Regions from separate parts of the Homo sapiens genome. Here region 2 is linked to region 1. Evidence: promoter capture Hi-C in human tissues and cell types (Jung and others, 2019). All regions are on one chromosome and are shown on one strand. The core of a region is centred on a gene start or on the middle of the fragment in contact, and the rest is flanking DNA. Distances in the headings are between cores, read along the strand shown. Region 1 holds the start of CRH (corticotropin releasing hormone). Region 2 overlaps TRIM55 (tripartite motif containing 55).

Region 1 (3,897 bases), core at 726-3,225:
AAGTTGTTTCAAAGAGCTTACAGATTTAGTCTTACCCACCCAAGAGAATGGCATTCTCTTTGGCTCAGACCACAACAAAAACAATTGAGTGACTTCTGTCTGCTTTTTCAAACAAAACGTTTTCTCACAGGTCTACATTCTCTTTAAAACACCACTATAAACACCTGGAAACGGAAACTAAACGTAGACAAAACGAATAACATTGTGTTGCTGCTGCACGTGAATACACTTTGTGCATGCTAAGTAAGGGGTATAGGCTCTCTCCCTCTCTCCCTCTATGTTTCAAGCTATATAAAAATAAACAAATGGCATAAGAGCAGCGCTATGGTACAGAATACTGTATTTTTTTAAATTTTTTTTGTGCTAAATGCAGATTCTTTTTGGCCAAACGCACCGTTTTATTTCCCAATAATCTCCATGAGTTTCCTGTTGCTGTGAGCTTGCTGTGCTAACTGCTCGGCCCTGGCCATTTCCAAGACTTCCCGGAGGAGGTGGAAGGTGAGATCCAGGGAGATGGGAGGCTCCTCGGACCGCCTTTCTCTCTCCGGTGCCTCCTGGTGGCCGCCGAGGGCATTCCTAGCGCCGCGCTCCGCGAGAGCCGCGGGGCTGTCGAGCGAGCGCCGAGGCAGCAGCAGCTGCTGCAGCAACACGCGGAAAAAGTTGGCGGTCGCCTGTTCCGGCGAAGGGCGGCTGCCGCTGCCTCCGGCGAGGAGCGAGGAGGCGGGCGAAAGGGGAGCGGCCGGGCTCTTGTTGAGGTTCCCCAGGCGGAGGAAGTACTCCTCTCCCATGCGGAGCAGGACCGGCCGAGCCTGCGGCTGCTGGGGCTGCTCGGACTGCGGCGGCGGCTGGAAGAAATCCAAGGGCTGAGGGTGCTGCGGCGCCTGCCGAGCTCCCGGGACCGGCCCGCGGCTCAGGAGCGCCCTGCATGGCGGGCAGGGCAGGAGAGCCACCAGCAGGACTCCCGCGGACACAAGCAGCGGCAGCCGCATGTTAGGGGCACTCGCTGCGGCACAGAGGTGGGCGGAGGGCGGAATGAGAGAGGGGAAGAGAGAAAGAAAGAGTTGGTTAGAGTTCGCTCAGCTGGGAGGTGCACACGGGGTCTTCCTACGGGACTGCCTTAGACGTGCTGGGCTTTGGCCTCAGTGATTCGGATGGGCGCTGTCCGCGGTGCTGAAGCGCCTGGGGAGCGGGGAAAGGGGGCGCCTGCAGGGCTCCGCACCTAAGCTCATGCGCTCACCGGCCAGGAGTGACCCTTCTTTCTAGACTCTGAAAGGACGGTCCCTGCGTCCTCTTCCTAACGATCCTCAAAACTAATTTTCCCGATCCTAGAGAAGAGCCACAGATTTAAGATCCCACCCGCGCTGACTACCTCCCTTCCGGATATTTCAGCATTTTCTTCCAAATTGAGAACTACTGCCTCATGGTCCTCCCTCTCCACTTCTGCCCTTGCTGCCTTATCTCGGGGGTTAGGATAGAAGGGGGTGGGGGAGCTCCTTTACACAGCCAGCAAGGAGCAACTGGCAGCACGGGTAACGAAGAGCAGCCGTCTAAGTTTGCTTTTGCCACATCCCAGCTACTATTGTAATCTTAAGGAATAGTCCGCGAACACGCGCGCACACACACACGCACGCACGCGCGCATACACACACACACATACGCATACACACATGCATACACACACACACACGCACGCACACACATGCATACACACGTACACAGGCAGGGGCAGCCGGCTCCGCGGCGCACATCGCGGCAGCTCAGGCAACGCAAAGTTGGTGGCGTGTTCCGTCCAGGCGCTCCCTACCTTCCCAGGCGCTTCGCAGGTGAGCCGGGTGCTGCCGCCTCTCTGCAGAGAGACGTCTCCGGGGGCTTTCTCTGGAGGTTGTCTTCCTTTCTCTTTACTGTTCCCACTCTCTTTTTCTTTCTCTCCTCTCTTTCCCCTCAGTCTCTCAATGGACTTGGTCTCTGAGTTTCTCCACTCCAGAGCCTGGAGTGGGATTTTATAGTGTCGACCCTCTTCAAAAACCACGCAGCATTTGCCTAATAAGCTGACGCTCTCTTGACAGCTCGATTGCGTGCTGCCTCTGCTCCTGCATAAATCATAGGGCCCTGCCAAGGAACGAGGGGCAGAATTTTGCTATCTCAACACTGAATCTCACATCCAATTATATCAACAGATATTTATCGCCTCTTGGTGACGTCAACGAGCCCTAAAATGGAAGGGCTTCTTATGACTTGTCCATTGACAAAAATTCTTGAATGAGATTTCCCAAGTGTGAAAACATATTGACCTCTTACTATGAAAGGCCATATTAGGGGTGTGCAAAGAGACAGCGAATGGGAGGAGGAAGGGGAAGTGGGAAGGAAGTGAGGTGTCCCAGTGCAGCCCTGCCAGGAAAGCAGCAGCCAGTTGGAGGGGGTGGACCTGGATGCCCCTTCTCCTAACCTCCCTGACCAGGTGTCTCTGACAACACCTCAGTATCTGGAAATATCCCTTTGCTAGAGACAGAGTCCCACCATCTTTCTGCCTGGAAAAGAATGAAGCATCAGGAGAGGGGTGTGCAGGAACATCCAGCTTTTAAACGTCTATCTGCTTTTTCCTCCCAAGAGCAAGCACATAAAGGAGTTATGAGCCTGCAGAAGCAAGGCCAATAAATCTCTCAAAATGCAGTTCAAGTTTTTTAGATGATGACAAGAGCTACTCCCATAGTGAAGGGGCACAAACCGGGGTTAGTAAGGGGTGCGGCAAAGATTTTAGGTTATCTCAGAAACTCTCTGCTCCTTTTTTTGTCTCTCTTCTCACAATCTAAAATTAATTGTGGACTCCCTTTTCTATTCCCAAATTAAAGAGAGAGGCGGCCAGTGAGAGATGCATGAGTTAAACAAGCTTTACTTATTCTACTGAATGCAAACTCAATGAGAGGCATCCATTCTAACTTCCTAATCTATGTTGAAAAAGGCTTAAACTGCTTGACTACAGGGCTAAATTCATTAGTTACATGTTTTCATTGGTCAATATTGAGTCTGTAAAAAAAAACTCGTTCATTTCACCTCCAAATACTATCAACATCCATAATAGTATCCACATCTGGGCCACCCAGGGTGGTTCTTTTTAATTATTTCTTTTTCCAAATCCAAATGTGCTTCATGTCAGCCTGTTAAATAAATAAATGCTCTCTGACATGTCGCAGAATGGAATGGAATGCTAAGCCTGTAAAACTATATTCAATTTTTGATTAATTGACACTATCATATAGGTGGGAGGCAGTTACCTCTAATTCTGCAATTCAAAATGCAATTCCAAGTTCTTGTGCCTGTGATTCAATTCAGCTTCCAGATAACCATCAGAGTTGTTTATCGGAAATTTCCTGCTCCTCATTTCTGATTACTTCTGCTGCTTCCTTTGTAGCTAATGTGACAAATGATGCAATGCATATTTCAACTTCCATTTTGGGTCTATACCAATCCACAACTGCTCTTAGGAACAAAGGGAAGGCAGGGAGAGAAATGTTGACAGTTTGCAGAGAAGCCAGCCCATAGTTGGATCACTGCACCATGTTATGTACTTTTGACATAAGAGAACAGAGAGAATGTGCCTACTTGGAAAGATGTGAGTTGTTAATAGAAGATCATGATTATGGAAAATGGTTGAGTTTCTGGGAGAAAGCTGTGTTTTATATTGGTAGGAAAGCACACAGAACCTTAGATTTTGTTATTGTGGGCTTTTTTTTTTTTTATTAAGCTGGAATGGGTTCAACATTTTTGCTTACTTTCCTTTATGAACTGTTTTCTGACCCTGTTAGCAGATTTCAGCTTGGATGTCAATCTGGAGGTGAAACGTTGACTTGGAATAGGAAGTTTCAGTGCAGTAAATGGACACAGAAGATAAACTAGGAA
Region 2 (3,897 bases), core at 705-3,204, 48 kb before region 1:
TTGGATAGACATGGGGTATATGGACTTCAGAGGAACCTGCTGGTGGAAAATATCATTGACATCTACAAGCAGGAGTCCACCAGGTAACACTCTTCCACTCTTCCATGTGTCAAGCCCATCTGAAACTTGTTTTTGTTTGTTTGTTTTAATGGGTTGCTACGCTGAATGCTTGTTTATCAATCACAGACTGTTTTATGGAAAAATGGTTTTCCAAGTCAGTCCTTCCCAGTGAGACTGAGAGTTGCTCACAGCAGGAGAGAGGGGAGTTGGTGCCCATGCTTTTGTATCAATTTAAGAATGAAGTGACTCATTAACACCAATCCATTCCAGATGGTGATGCTGAAAGAGACATACTGCTGTCCCCCTCCACCTTAAAGCCTGGTATTACATCCATTTTACACATTTTGCACTTCACAGGCACTTTGTAGCTCCAGATCCCTACAAAGCAAAGAAAAAAAAATCTAGTAAATACTTAATAGAAAATTAATAGAAATGGCATCTTCCGAAGTAGCCCAGTTCCTAGTTCAGACAGTCTTGCCTTAAAATTGTTTGGATGATAATAAAAACAAAATCCTCTAACATAGGTTGTCACTGTATTTACTCTAAGGGAAGTCACAAAGCAAGGCAAAACCCTGGCCTTTAGGGACTTAAACTTCAGAGCCATGAGGAAAAAAAAGGGTGAAATTCAGGTTATGTTTCCCTATTCCTTATACTGTATTTACTGCATAGTCAGCATTCACTTGTTGATTGTGAATAACATCGTGATAGCATTATATATCTATCCATTCATTTTTAAAAAATAACAAAAAAGGCTTCTTATTCACCAAACCACATTGGCTATAGAATTCCTTTCCTAGACACAATGCTGCGGGAAGCTTATTCCTAGAAGGCACGGTGTGAAGAGCCCCTTTTCAATTGTGTGCAGGTCAGTCCAGTCCACAAAGCTTGATAGCAATATTGAGACCATCTAGAAATGGCCTCATTGTGATTCCATTAGGGGACACGTATTTATGGAACATCTGCAGAGCTCTAAGAGGCTTGTGCTCTTGGAAGGAAAGCTGTTCTATAAATCTAACATAATTATTATAATTATTATAGCTATTAATTTCCGCTAAAGATCCAAAACTAAATTAGACAGTACCAGGATCTAGATGGGTTTGGGGAAGAATTGCTGATGACATATTGCAGAGATTGCAGCTGGCTGTTTCCCTTGCTTCCAAAGTCTCTTGACAAGAACAAAAGTACTATTGCTGTTGCTGTTACTTTACAGATTTGATCTCATTGTATTTCACTACTTTAAAATACAAATACACACTTGTCTCTTAAAAACTTAACCAGCCAATTAAAAACCAATTAATTATGAGATTGATGCAAAAGTAATTGCGATTTTTGCAATTACTTTTCATGGCCAAAACAGCAATTACTTTGCCACCAACCTAATATTAAGAGAGTTTATATAACAAGAGTTTCAGTGCTAGTCCAGTGTCTTGCACAGAATAGTTGCTCCATAAATCCCAGCTGATTAAGCAATACCACAAATATTCTTACGTAACAAGTTTCAGAGCTAGTACAGTGCTTTGCACAGAATAGTTGCCCCATAAATCCCAGCTGATTAAGCAACACCACAAATATTCTTTCATGTTCTATTTATTGCAATAAATTTATGTTTTGTTACTTGTCACAGTGGGAACTTGAGACATGAAAAAATAGCAATACTTGTTATGAAATCCAGAGAAGAGATGTTAAAACTTGCAGTATTGGTAAAACTACAAAACACATCTTCACCTTAGCTATGAAGTTGGCTTGGTGCAGCTGCCAAAAATAGTACCCAGGCCTGGGAAGTAAATTGCGTAAAAGCAATGAACCAAATTTCCAACAATAAAGCTCATAGTTGAGTGAACTAGGGATGCTTTTGTGATTTTCTGTGATTTTGTTATGCTGTTTTTTCTTGAACTTGAGACTTTCCTGTGGGACAATTTTACTTGGTAGCAAAACCACAAGTTGCACAGAGCACTTGGCCACATGTCTGGGAGGAAACGCAGTTGTCCCCTGGGGGCAGACAGCCTTACTAGACCAGAATCTTGAGCCTCAGGGTACATTAGGTAACACTGGAATGACCTTGGATATACAGAATGAAAAGAGTTCAGCTGTGGCTATTGGAAGGGGGTCGGGGGGGGTGACCAATCACAGACTGGGATGTTGTCAGTCAACTCTGACCTCCTCCAGAAAGGCTGGAGACTGTAAGTCTCCACAAAACCTAGCATTCTTTTTTTTTTTTTTTTTTTGAGATGGAGTTTTGCTTTGTTTCCCAGGCTGGAGTGCAGTGGCGTGATCTTGGCTCACTACAAGCTCTGCCTCCCAGGTTCACGCCATTCTCCTGTCTCAGCCTCCCAAGTAGCTGGGACTACAGGCACCTGCCACCACGCCCAGCTAATTTTTTTGTATTTTTAGTAGAGATGGGGTTTCACCGTGTTAGCCAGGATAGTCTCGATCTCCTGACCTCTTGATCCACCCGCCTCGGCTTCCCAAAGTGCTAGGATTACAGGCATGAGCCACTGCGCCCAGCCAAAACTTGGCATTCTTATCCAGAATTCTGCATGGTGCCAGACTAGCCACAGTTGGGAGTGGGAGATGGTAAGAGAAGGTACTATTTTGGCTAATATTAATAATTAATATAATAATAATTAACTTTAAAATATAACAAGTAAAACTACTATGTGCTGCATGCCAGACACTGTTCAGGGTGCCTAACACATGAATCATGTGCAATTCTTTAATTCTCACAATAATCCGGTGAGGTGTTGATTATTATAATTACTGCTACCCTATTAAAGCTTTTAGTGCCTTAAAGTAATCAACATACACAACTTTTAGAATTCATTACTACTGGGCCTCTGAAGAGAAATGCAGTCTCCACTCTGTTCTCTCTTTACCCACCCCCAAGCCTCATTCCCCAGAGTCAACCACTTTTAATTCTTTTAGCTGTTTTTCTGCTATTTATCACCAATGACATGTGCATACTACTGGTATGCTCCTATTCTTTGATTTTTCAATTTTAGACATTTTCTATTGACTTTCCACTGTAGACAATTAGGACTGAGCCCTCACATGGCTGGGCTTTACCTCTACTTGGGAATTCTTTTACTCTCCCCCTGGGTTGAACCCCTTGCTCCCTGGATTCCAGGTCTCCTTGTTTGGTGGCTTACTCTCTTATTTCTATGGAGCACATCCTCAAGTAATCTCTTAAAACATGCACAAAGTCCTCCTCTTTTCAGCCTCTCCCAGTCTGTCACCGCCTACTTCCACCTTCAGGACTACTGGCTCCTGCAGTTCCAGAGCCTTTCCAGGGTTCCATAGCTCAAGTCAGCTTGCTTATTGTAAGCTTCTCACTGCAGGAATGTAACAGAACTAAGATGCAACTCAAGTAGGTCATGTCCCTTCATCCAGATGTTCCTAATTTCCAACATTTGGTTGACATCTCTCATCTGCTGTCATCTGTGCTCACTTTTTGTCCTTATTGATTTATGCCCTTTTATTTCCTTATCCTCATTTCACTGGGATTTCAGCAGAATAAATACATAAATACATACATACATATATAAATACATAAATAAATACATGCTTGTGTTCATTCTGCCACATTTAATTAGAAGACCCTTAATCTGATATTTGATACGAGTAAAAACTGAGACCAGAAGAGGTTAAGTAACTTGTCTAAGGCCACATAGCCACTACATGGAGAAGCTGAGCTGAAATGAAGCTTTAAGATCAGTTTGGGCAGGCACAGTGGCTCACGCCTATAATCCCAGCACTTTGGGAGGCTGAGGTGGACAGATCACCTGAGGTCAGGAGTTTGAGACCAGCCTGACCAACATGGTGAAACTCCATCTGTACTAA

The links. The method cuts DNA at HindIII sites, captures the fragments that hold promoters and counts their contacts. A contact is called where the count stands out against the background at its distance.
Region 2: a fragment that was not itself captured here is called in contact with the fragment with the promoter of CRH in region 1 in 2 of the 25 tissues and cell types used here (heart right ventricle and thymus).

What each region holds. Positions count from the first base shown.
Region 1 is chr8:66,176,489-66,180,385 of GRCh38, forward strand. CRH (corticotropin releasing hormone) reads right to left here and starts at 1,976. Exons shown (of 2, transcript NM_000756.4): 1 at 1,805-1,976; 2 at 1-1,003. The coding sequence starts at 989. The coding sequence ends at 399. It overlaps LOC112268029 (a long non-coding RNA gene), which reads right to left. Exons shown (of 4, transcript XR_002956713.2): 4 at 3,398-3,472. RefSeq lists an enhancer at 862-931. The HindIII fragment of the contact is 9,798 bases long and covers 1-3,897 here.
Region 2 is chr8:66,128,394-66,132,290 of GRCh38, forward strand. It overlaps TRIM55 (tripartite motif containing 55), which reads left to right. Exons shown (of 10, transcript NM_184085.2): 2 at 1-83. Among named protein-coding and RNA genes, the nearest start is that of TRIM55, 3.2 kb to the left of the region's middle. The HindIII fragment of the contact is 3,233 bases long and covers 339-3,571 here.